3 separate regions of the Homo sapiens genome follow, and regions 2 and 3 are each linked to region 1. The links are contacts of gene promoters, found by promoter capture Hi-C in human tissues and cell types (Jung and others, 2019). All regions are on one chromosome and are shown on one strand. Each heading gives the region's core, a stretch centred on a gene start or on the middle of the fragment in contact. The rest is flanking DNA. Distances are from core to core; before and after follow the strand shown.

Region 1 (4,055 bases), core at 846-3,345:
GTAATGAATCAGAAACTCGAAGGATAGGGCCCAGCAATCTGTGTTGTAACAAGCCCTTCTGGAGTGTCTCTTGTATGCTAAATTTAAGGGCCTAAACTAGAGAAACTGGTGCAGGTGGTAACTCTTCTCATGTGAATCGGCTCACCTAATGCCTCATGCAAAATTGCTACTTTAAACAGTCTTTCTCAGTTTTAATATATTATTTACACTCTTTGCAGTGAAGTTAGCAGTGATAATGTCAAGTTTTTCAGCTGAAATTTACTATGAAGACTGTATCTTCTTAACAAAATATCCTTTAACTCGTGATATTTTTTTCTGCCTCCCATTATCAAAGTTTTTCTTTCTGCGATACCTACCATGGGTTAGCCTTTAACTATGCTGTGTCAACTGTATGTGGGGATTATACTTACAATTAAAACTTGTATTTGACATACGAATGGGACTCAAGGAAATCAAAACTCTTCTTGGAAACAGTAGGAACATCTGAGCCAGTAATTAACAAACGTTGATTGCCAAGGAAATTCAAACCAAGGTTTAATAAGGAAGGAATTCTTGTAAAAATAGACATAATAGCTATATGTAAAAATAAGAATATCTCTCATGTATAAGGAATTTTTATGTTTTGTGTAGAATTCTAGAGAGTGAAAGTTATGAGTACTGATATATGATTAGTATGTTGAAGCTATTACAATATGAAGTTTGTCTGAAAATAGACTAGGCTATCCTGTGAGGTGAAGAGTTTCCTGTAGTTAGGGGTATTTAAGCCACATCAAATTGTGGGTCGATTGGGTGGTCTAGACCCTTCCTCCTCAAGTGTAGTACCATCTGGGAGTCATTAGAAGGGTAGAATTTCAGGTTTCACCCCATTCCTGGTGAATCAGTATCTACAACTTAACAAGATCCATGGATGATCTGTATGCACATTATGTCTGAGAAATAGTGCTCCAGTTGACATCTAATGAATTTTCGTATTATTTTTATACTTCTTATAGGATTGTGTTGTGTTGTAAAATTTAAATAACAGTCTAGAATAGAAGTTGGGTAAATACATGAGCTTTACCCCACTTTCCATTGTAAAGTCGCTAACTGAATTAAATACTTCCCTCAGAAACAAAGATTGTTTCTTGGATATTGTAGTTAATTTTAAGTGAACAGTTATTTACATACTAGTTCTTTGTTAACTTTGGACTCTTGGCGTTACACAAAAGTAAAACACGTCTTTTGGCTTTCGTGTAGCACACTCAGAATATTTTCAGTAACCCCCAAAATATATTCAGTGTTTAATCCTCCAATTCCTTCATGCATGTCCTCTTCATTTTCACCAAACCCAGCAGGATTCGTGACTCTCCCTCACAGAAACGTTCCCTTTCTGCTCAGAGTAGGTACTGATTTTGTCTCCTGCTTCCTCAGTCTGTATGAATGGACAGCAGCAACGGAAAGAAAAGAGGGTAGGTAAAGGGAGGTGGAGATATAAGGGGGACTGGAGCGCGATGGAGAGACCAGACTCTGCTCAAAGCTAAAATTTACTCGGGCAGGGAATACTTAACATACAATTCCCATTACCAAAACAATATGAATGAAGAAGAACTGAAGAGGTAATGAGAAATGACAGATGCCGCCACACCCTAGATTGGCTCAGGTCCCTACAACCATGACTACCATGCCCTGGCCCAGTGGGAAGAAAGCTGCTTAAAGAAATGACAAGCACAGAAGACCGGGGAGCCAAAAGGTGCCCAAGTCCGTTCCCATCCCCACCAGCGCAGGCTGACACAAGCGAAGGCTGTAGAGCCCATTGTGTGAAAGAAGCCCAGGCGGGGAAGCGTGTGCCCCCTTCCCACTTTGCCCATCCCTGGCCCTCGCCTTCGCAGGGGGCACTGGGAGCAGAGCGAGCCTCGGCAGCCCGGGAGCGGCTCTGGGGGAGACGAGTGTATCCGCGGGCGCGTGTGCGTGAGGAGGAGAGCAAAGACGTGATTACTTCAGAATTTATTTAAGGGCCGGTGGAAACCACTGCAGCAGCTTCCAGGGGAAGCCCTTGTTCCAGAGGAAGAGGAGGTGGTGGCTGCCAAGGAGGAGGAGGGGAGGAGACGGAGGAGGAGGAGTAGCAGCCACCGCACGAGGCAAGTGAGGAGAGAAGATGCTGTAGCGTCCTCACCGGCTGCCAGCAGGTTGGTTCTTCCGGCCAATTGAAGCAAGCAAAGAGGCTTGCAGAAAGGCCGGGAGGAGAAAAATGGGTGTGTGTGCTGTGGCGGCGGGGGGGCGGCGGGGGGGAGGGAAGGGGGGCCGGGGGACGGCGTGGGGTGATGTTTGCCTTTCCAGAGAAAAAGCGCCTCCTTTAAGTGAAACGAGACACGGGAGCGCGCGGAAACAGGCTGGGGGCCAGGAGGAGACCTGTCCTGCTTTTTGCATCCCTAGGGACTCGTTTTCCTTTAGGTTTCTAACTCCCAGGGTTAGCCTTAAACTCCAGAGGGGCTCCAGGAGGGGAGACTGGGTGGAGAACTTCTCTCCCAGATACTTCTCACGCCTTTTCTCCAAGCTTTCTTTTGGAGGGACGCCCCACACACCCCGGGTGGCCCGGGCGCGGAGGGGGAGCGGCGCCGCGTGGTTAAGTTTCTGAAAGTCAAACCCAGTCCCCGGTCTCCGGTCTCCGCCCCGGGGCTCCAGCTGCACGCGGGGAGCTGCGGCTGTTCTGGCAAAGGGGCCGCGGCTGCTTTAAGAGCCGCCTCCCCCTCTCCTCCTTTGACAATGGTCTGAACCGAGCTTTGCTTCCCAAAGCAAAATTTGTAATATGCCATTTTTCCGATGGACGCTTCTCCTTTTGGCTGCTGACGGAGCCACGGGAAGATGCCGAGCTCCTGCCACGCCACCGGGCCGGGGCACGTTCCGGGAGGGCGCCGGGGCACGCGTGTGTCTGAGCTGCCTTTCTCCTCCCGTTGCTAGGGAAATGGTCCAGGAGTGCTGGGTGTGAGCCTCCCTTCTCCTCAAGCCGGAGACTGCGGTTGTCATTGATCAATTGAAGAAGCAAGGACCCGAAATCACAGACATTAGGTACAGAAGCTGTCTTTGAGTTTTACTGTCTCCTTTCGCTGTATTTTTTGACCACCTCCCCGGCCCCACCCCGCCCCCAGGGAAGATGAGATGCAAATTCCTCCTTGTTGATTACCGTTAGGTGCCTTTTGCTTTCACCTCATCCTCTCCATCTCCTATCTCTCTACCTCCTGCCTACTTGGCTGTGTCCTGTTGGGCAGGATGAACAATTTTAGTGTGGAAATGATGAAGTCAACTTCTTCAAGGTGGTGGGGGGTGTGGCTGAGAGATAACTGTCCAGTAGTGTGGGTTGAGCTGGCTCTGGCTGTCCGTAAATGCACTAGGGTAAAGAAAGTGTAAAATGTGTCCATTAAAGGTGATAATCATATTTCCCGAGGACAGAGGCTTTCAAAGAGTTAAATAGGAGGGAGAATATTCATGTAATGTAATCAGACAATGGCTAGGATTTCTCTCACTGAATTACTCCTTGTAGGTTAACTGAGGTGGAGCTGGGATGGTTCTTAAGACTAAATGTTTTCAGAAGAAACTCACTATGGATAATAATTACATTCTTACCTCTAGTAGGGCCGAATTCCTAGTGATATGATTAAATAAAGTCATTTGTTGACAGAAAAAAGAAAAAAAGCTTTTTGTAGCACTCTCATATCTGAAGAGGTACTGCTTGGATGGCATATATTGTTAAGGAACACATTGGATCTTGAAAGCCCTTGAGTGAGGACTCCAGTGGGCATTCAAACTTTTATTTTGAAATCTGAGAAATTTAAAAGACAGTCAAGGCTATGTGCTAAGAATAAAGGAGTTATTTTCCTGATATAAAATTCTTCCGGCTAAATTTAAGCACTGGGATAATTAAGCCAATCAGATTTATTATTACTTTTTTTCTTTCTCAACAAAATTAACAATGTCTCTGACTAGGTTTCAAAACCTTCAGTAATTTAATGAGGAAAGCATCAATATCTAGATGAAGATAACATAATTTATATATCAAATTGACTTTGAGGGGGGAATGA
Region 2 (4,055 bases), core at 909-3,408, 610 kb before region 1:
TGGAGGAAGAGGAATTGGCGGATTATGAACTGAGGTAACAGGAAGAATAATAATGTCATTTATAGAAGGAATGCTTAAACCACTGAGGTGATGAGGAGTAAACAAAATAAATACAGACTCCAGAAGGCATGAAATCATGTAGAAAAGTTTTTTTTAAAACCAAGGAAAGAATTTAAATTATGATAAATGATGATAACAGGTAACCATAACTATAAGCTTACAAGGAAAGTTTAATGATTTGATATAAAATTTTAAAAATCCAAACGAATAGAGGCAACCAAATATATGATGATTGGCTAAACACAGGAAAACAGTATAATATAAGTAGAATGAGGAAAAATGCAACAGATGAAAGGAATCTCCATGAACTCTGTTTTACTGAACTTCTAATAATTGAAAGATATGGGGAAAGGGGAAAGTAGTGGAGGAGGTACCATTAAAAATTAGAAAACAAATTTAAGTTCTAAATAGTTTTATTTAAAAGGAAAATCTGAAGACACTTTCTATATCTCAAACAGACAAAAAGAAAAATTATCCTTGGTTCTCAAAGATTTGTTTGCATTGCAGCTCTCTCTTACTTATGATTACAGAAGTTCCCCTGGAATGGGGCTAACACTGGCCACTATCTTGTTATAATGTAATATTATTTTTACATTTGAAATCTAAAATGACTCAGAAAAACTGAAAAAGAGAAAATGGAATTCAGAAAAATATATAAGGAAAGTGAATGAATAAAAGTTACATACAGCAGAGTAAAACAGAACACACTAATTATTTCTCCGTTGTGCTCTCACTGTCTGTTTCCAACAACATACTTTCTGCCTTCATGTGTTTCAAATTAAATATGAGCGCAATTTCAATGCATTCGAATTACTACCACCACCAACAATAAAAACTACTTAGGATGGCCAAGAAAACATTTAATTTATTAAGATGCAAAAAAAAAAAATAAAGACAAGCTTGATAAAAGAATAATCTATCATGGACATACACTTTCTGTGTTGTTCAATTAAAATGGTAGTAAAATAATTACACCAGATGATCACCAAAAGGAACTGATTCTATAAACATTTACTCAGCACCCAATCCTGGTAGGATCATTTGAGTAATAATGTGAAACAGGAGAAGCAGCATATGGCGTCAAGAAACTGAAAGAAAAGTCAAGAGAAAGTCCCTGGAGGCTCAGTGCCTTAGAGGATCCCTATGCTTTGGCAGGCACAGAAGCTGGAATTCCTGAGAGTTCATTAGGCTATCCCCAGCTAATTTAAATAACATTATAAGATGTTGACTTTGAAATACAAATGTATTAGTTTCCACTGAGAAATATACCTATAACAATAATCTGTAACACTCATTTGTTAGGATAGTCTCCTAATTTTAGAATTACAATGAGAACAAATGAGGCCAGGTATTCTTTTTTTTAAAATTTTTTTAAATTTTTTTGAGACGGAATCTCACTCTGTTGTCCAAGCTGGTGTGCAGTGGCGCAGTCTCGGCTCACTGCAAGCTCTGCCTCCTGGGTTCACACCATTCTCCTGCCTCAACCTCCCGAGTAGCTGGGACTACAGGTGCCCGCCACCATGTCTGGCTGATTTTTTGTATTTTTAGTAGAGACGGGGTTTCACTGTGTTAGCCAGGAGGGTGTCGATCTCCTGACCTCGTGATCCCCCCGCCTCGGCCTCCCAAAGTGCTGGGATTGCAGGCGTGAGCCACCGCGCCCGGCCGAGGCCAGATATTCTTAAAATTTTCAGCAAGCTAAGTAAGCTGCTTAAGTTGCTTCTGTTGTTTTGATCTATTTCTGTTTCATAAAATATTTTAGCTATCCTGACTTAGACTATCTCTCCCCTCTTGCTTTTCAGAAGAATTTTCTAGATTCCATTAAACAACAATTAATTTCTGAAGATCAATGATGATTCTGCTGAGAATGTTACAGATTTACACTTACAGTCATTACTTCCCAAGAACACAGTCTGGTTTCCTTGAAGGAGCTATAATGAAATCTTAATCTCCAAAATAAGATATAGGTCATATTTATCCTATCAGCAAAATATTTAGAAGCTGTCTCTACTGGCTTTTTTGCTGCAGATGGTTAATCTCGCCTATATTATGTACTAACTTTTAGACATTTTAACCTGAAGTGATACTTGTTCTGATTTTATGTCCAAATTCCCAGGGTATTTTATTGTAATCTGTAATGTACTAAATAAAGTACTATATTTCCACATAGGGAAAGAACAGTTATTGATTTGTGTCTCTTCAAATAAATTTAAAAATCTATTAGTTGGATCATATAACTAATATTTATTATCATACACAATGATCATAAATATAACTCAGGGATCAACCAGAAATAATATATGTCTAGTTGAGTACTAGGTATGTGCAAGGAGTGCCTTCAATAAGACTCTTTATTAGATCTATGTTTAACTTCATTCTTTCAAGAATTATTTAAACATGATGTACACAATAAACATACATAATTTTTATTTGCCAATTAAAAATAAACAATTTTAATGTAAAAATAGAATCATTTAATTTACTCATCTATAAACAGAAACTGTTTATGATGCTGAAAATAGTGAAAAAGACAAACATTGTACCTTTGTTTTTTGATAGTTTATAATTTAGTTGCAGATACAGACAAGCCAACAGACAATAACAATAGTATGTTATTTATTAATATGGCAAAAAATATATTTGTTTAGAACATAAACTTCCAGGAACTCTGGACAATTTATTTCTTCCAAGTAAAGACCTAATTATACCATCACTACCAATCATCATCACAACCATCACAATCATGTATTAGCCACAATTTATTAACCCATGCTATATTCTCAGTTCTATGCTAGGTGCTATGTATACATCATCTTTAATCTTTGCTGTCCTAGAAGGTAGGTAATATTATCCCTACTTTTAAAAAAGGAAAGAAAAAACCCCAGATGTAACAGACAGATGTCAGCTCATAGCTGACCTTGAACTAACATGTAGGCCACAGTCTTTCCTACTAAACATGAAAAATTTCTCAGTACACCAACATCAGACAAGGTTTGTGACCATGCCAACTTCATAATCATGTCTGAGTGCAGACAAAAACAAGAACGTCATGTAAACACAAAGTTGCCACAAAAGCATCCCCGTAGGAAAAGTTCACATGGTATGAAACTGAGACCTCATGCCAACAGCCTGCACCAACTAGCCACCTCCGTGAATGAGATATTATGGCCACCTATGCGAATGAAATATTATGGCCACCTATGTGAATGAGATAATCACAGAGGCAAATATTTCAGCCTCAATCAAGCCTTCAGCAACTACAGCCCCAGCCAACTTCTTGACTGTGACCTCTTAAGATCCCAAACCAGATCCACCCAGTTAATCTGCTCCTGAATTCCTGACCCACAAAAACTGATGAGATAGTATAGGTTTAAACCACTTGTTATGCAGCAATAGATAATACATAACATTAATACAATTGTGTGTCGGTAAGTGTGTACTTTTCATTTCAAAGGGGCATAAAGTAGGTACTATAATTAAATATTCCTTAATACCATAGTTTCCTTTAATTCTCCCAGTGTATTTTCTTGGAGCTCTTTAAACATATTTATAACAGCCACTGAAATCCAACACGTTAGCCCAATTAGGATCAGCACTTATTGACTTACTCTTTTTTTCCTAAATACGGGTCACACTATCCTTCAATTCTTTCATCATAGGTACTAAAATCCAGCATTAGGGCTTACTTGGAATTAGTTTCCTAAGTTAGAGTCACACTTTCCTTTTTTTTTTTTTTAAACATCTAGTTTTTTTTAGTTGAAAAATGGAATGGCAGATACTTTATTGTAGTGAATCTATTTTGTTTTCCTAAGGATTTGTGGTGGTTGTTGTTCTATTAATAGTGGGAAGTCAACTTGTTTTGACTCAAACTGTGAAAACTATCCCCCCTTCAGAGTGCAGCAGCTGATGTCTCTGCTTAGTTGCTTTTTATTTACCCACTGTCTGGTGGTATACCTGAGCCTGCAGAGTTTAGCAGTCAGATAAAGATTTGGGTAGAT
Region 3 (4,055 bases), core at 995-3,494, 580 kb before region 1:
GCATACCCAGGTCAGACCTTACAAACACCTTTTTAGTTAATTCTGATTTAATATAGTTTATAGATGGGTTTTTACTTTAAAAAATGACAATGGCATCCTCTTCTTTCTGTATCCACTGAAAATGCAGCCATTAAAGCAGCTCATTACATTGTATTCTATCTTCCCAGGTAGCTGAATTAATAGCTCTGACTAAAGCTTGTATTGTGGCAAAAGACAAAAAGAGAACAGATGTGCTTTTAAGAATTGTTCATGATTTTGGAATGTTATGAAAACTGGAAGGATTTATGACCTCTTAAGATATTTTGACTACCAGTGGAAAAATATTAATGTTTTAGTGAAAGTGATTAAAAACTCACAAGGAGATCCTAGTTATTAAGATAGAAGTGCATACGCAGATCAAAATCTGAGGGCAGTGGTCTTGCAAGGTTACATCTAAATGAGCTGCTTTTCACATCGCAGCTAAAAGGGATGCTTTAAAATGGACATCTCTCTCCACCAAACTTTCAAAAGAAGTATTGTCTCAATTTAAACTGGCTATGGTTGACTTACAGTGATTAGCTCAACCTTCTGAAAGGCAAAGTTGGGGATCCCCTTTCCATAAAGATAGATTTTGGCAATTTTGGGATTTAGTGCCCCATAGCACCACAATCCCACCAATGAACCCAGGTCAGATTATTCTATGATTGTTCACGTTATAGAATTAAAAAAACTACTTTTGCATTAAATAAGTAATGGTAGATAACAAGCATAATCCAGGTACATCTGTTAAGGTGAGGCATGGTTCAGTTCCTCTACTCAAGACTCTTGAGGTTTTGCAGATAGGCTTTATACAACTGCCTAAATCTTTAGGCTATGTATACACATTAGTTATTGTTGGTAAAAGTTTCTGGCTGGATAGATGCTTTTCCTTGCCAAAGAGCTAACACTGTCACAGTTGTTAAAATATTAAACCATACATTCCCAAACGGAAATACTCATTTCATGAGAATAAGCATAAAGAAACTCTGTTAGATCTTTCCACTAACCCAGAAAATTCACTGTTAGCATTACCCCAGTCTTAAAGAGAAGTAGAATGAGTAAAGGAGACACTGAAGATGACACTGTCCAAATTTTCATAAACATTTAATTTTCCCAGGTCTACATTTTCCCACTATCATTAATAACCATGTAGTCCTCTCCTCAGAGCTCCCATGGGCTTTCTATAAGATCATTACAAGACACCTTCCACCACTAGGAAAAACTTTACTGATGCATGCAGACCTACCTGGATGGTGTCAGAAACTAACCTCCTTTACTCAGTCTTATGCACAGCAGGGATGAGCTACCTCTTCAAAGGAAACAACTCAACATTTTGCATGACCTCCAACCCAAGAAGTGTGTCATTTAGAAGACATATTGTATTAGTTTCCTAGGGCTACAATAACAAAGTACTACAAGGTCAGTGTCTTAAAACACAAAAATGTATTGTCTTACTGTTCTGGAGGCCAGAAGTCCGAAACCCAAAATCAAGGTGTAAGGAGGGCCATGCTCCCTTTGAAGATGCGTCACAGGGAAAGATTGGTTCCAGGATTCTCTTCTGGCTCTGGTAATTCCTTTGGCTTATGGCATCATAACTCCAGTCTTCACATGTTATTCTTCCTGTGTGTATGTCTCTGTGCCCAGATTTTCTTTTTTATTAGGACACCAGTCATTGAATTAGGGTCTACCCTAATTACTGCATTTTAATTTGATTTCATATGTAAAGATTATATCTCCAAATGAAGTAACATTCTGAGGTCCTGGAGGATATAACTCCAATGTATTTTTTTGAGGATACACAATGCATAACACATCAATGTAAAAATGCTTTACAACATTGCTGGGACACCGTTTTTGTTTCTTCTGTGTCACTGTGGAAACAACTGCCAACCCAAATCAGTAGGTTTCTTTCACATGAGATATTAAACTGAGGCTACATCAAAAGCCTTCAGAAGCAGACAACTTTAAGAGACAGTCATCCTGCCCAATAACCCTGAACCAAGGAGATGACAGTGGTATCATCTTCTGTCCCTGAGACAACAAAATAAAACACAGCAGAATGAATTCCTTAGGAAACCTTTCCCTTTTAATAATTATTATTCTGGCATTCTTTGGTGATTTAGCCTAAATATCATGAGATCATTCTTTTTTTCTCAGCACTTAACCACATTCAGTTCTTAGTACTGTATATTCAGAATACATAGTGACAGCCTGTGCATTTGTATTGCAAAAATGACTGTGTATATGAAAACTTTCTTTTTCATACACAGAATATCTCCATACTACCAGTCCCTTGTAATTCCAGTTATTCCACATCTGTGATGGCTCTAGTCCCCAGTGGTCATAATCCACTTGAGGTTTGTGAAACCTTTCTTGTGATTCTCTGAAGAGGCCCAATTTACCTGATTGAAAATTACACAAGTCATGTGGTCTGAATGGGGACAAACTTTGTTATAACTCAGTTTCAGGGGCTAAAAACAATAGTTCTCATCACAAATATGTCAGTTTCAGCAATATTTGAGAAACGAAAAATATCAAAGTAATAAAGGGAAATAAGACAAAAAGTCTTTAGTGCAAGTCTTAAAGATTGATTTGTAAGTAACTCCTTCCTCCCTATTCCAATTGGGTTTGTGGAACTGCAGCTTACTAGCTATTACCTGCTAACTGATTAGGCTTAGTCATTTAGCCTTCCTTATGTCAGTCTTGCAGATTGACAGGATCTATTAGAGATGGCAAAGAAATATTTTGTCCATCAAAAATAGTTCATCACTGGCCAGGTGGGTTCATTAGTTCAAGGAAAATTTCGACTTGTTTTGTTTATAGCAATACAATGTCGCTGTATACCTTTCAGAAAATTATTATCTCAATGAAACAACTCCATGGCTGAACTTCTGATATATGGTGATATTTAAATGATGATATATCCTAGAGTTGACTAAATTCTTTATGGTCAAATCTTCTCCTCTGGGATAGAGGAAAAACTACAGGAAGGAACTGATGAAGTTTGACGCCTTGGACACATCACCTACAAAGCAGAGTCAGCCAAATGCTATAATCCCAAATTAGGGAACTCACACAGCAGAGGAGCTTAGGTAGTATAAAATACCCCACACAAACAATCCAGCCAGCTCAGTATTTACTTAATCCACAAACTCAGATATAGCCATCCCCAGAACATCACTGAGAAACTTTACTTTCCTAATACAGAACAGAGATGGTTCAGGATCTTGGGGATATAGAGGATCTACTCTATCTCTCCTTCTCTAAGTTTCTTTTGTGGGAGCCTCCAATATTATATACATATGCATACATATATATGTGTGTATAGGTATATATATACACACATGCATACATACACATATATACATATATGTATATATACATACACACATATATACATATATATGTATATATACATACATATACACATATATACATATATACACACACATATACATAATATATATGTTTTATGTATCATGTATAAAATTTTACAACAGGAATAGAAAAACAAGTAGAGGAACCTTGCTTGGGTTAAAAAGTATTGAGTTTGTTAGATTTACACCTGAGTAGGCCTCAAATTATCTGTTCACAGCAGTGGAGAAAGTCAAGTGCATCTTTAATACCATTCATTCCCTCTTGCCATCCTTAAGAAAACATCTTTTGGAAATTCTACTTGAGTCACTGTGGCTATACATTTTGAAGGTTAATTTTTATGCTTTTAAATGTAGATTAAAAAGTGAATTTATTTTAAAAGCATTGGCATTTTTGTGTGACTAGCATTTTATGCTTGCATGTTGAAAATGGTATTTTGGATTTCTTTTGTCTTCATCTATGTACAAGTTGGCACTCATGTATCATCTTAAGTTATAAACATTCACAATGACTGTTTTCCCTAGTTAAACATGATAAACTACTGGTAAATTCATTCATTACATTCTTACTCCCAAACTGCATTTCTAGGCAAATTTATGTTTGGTATGCTTTATTAATAGAGTAAGAAGAAAATCAAAGTTTTGAATAAGAGAAAAGAGGCT

What was found. The method cuts DNA at HindIII sites, captures the fragments that hold promoters and counts their contacts. A contact is called where the count stands out against the background at its distance.
Region 2: a fragment that was not itself captured here is called in contact with the fragment with the promoter of PPFIA2 in region 1 in 1 of the 25 tissues and cell types used here (lymphoblastoid cells).
Region 3: a contact is called between a fragment that was not itself captured here and the fragment with the promoter of PPFIA2 in region 1, in 1 of the 25 tissues and cell types used here (dorsolateral prefrontal cortex).

What each region holds. Positions count from the first base shown.
Region 1 is chr12:81,757,390-81,761,444 of GRCh38, reverse strand. It overlaps PPFIA2 (PPFI scaffold protein A2), which reads left to right and starts at 2,095. Exons shown (of 33, transcript NM_003625.5): 1 at 2,095-2,165; 2 at 2,938-3,045. RefSeq lists an enhancer at 2,297-3,235. The HindIII fragment of the contact is 8,978 bases long and covers 1-3,102 here.
Region 2 is chr12:82,363,470-82,367,524 of GRCh38, reverse strand. All of the region lies in intron 1 of METTL25 (methyltransferase like 25), which reads right to left. Among named protein-coding and RNA genes, the nearest start is that of METTL25, 7.0 kb to the right of the region's middle. The HindIII fragment of the contact is 3,139 bases long and covers 589-3,727 here.
Region 3 is chr12:82,341,976-82,346,030 of GRCh38, reverse strand. No RefSeq gene overlaps it. Among named protein-coding and RNA genes, the nearest start is that of CCDC59, 14 kb to the left of the region's middle. The HindIII fragment of the contact is 4,522 bases long and covers 1-4,055 here.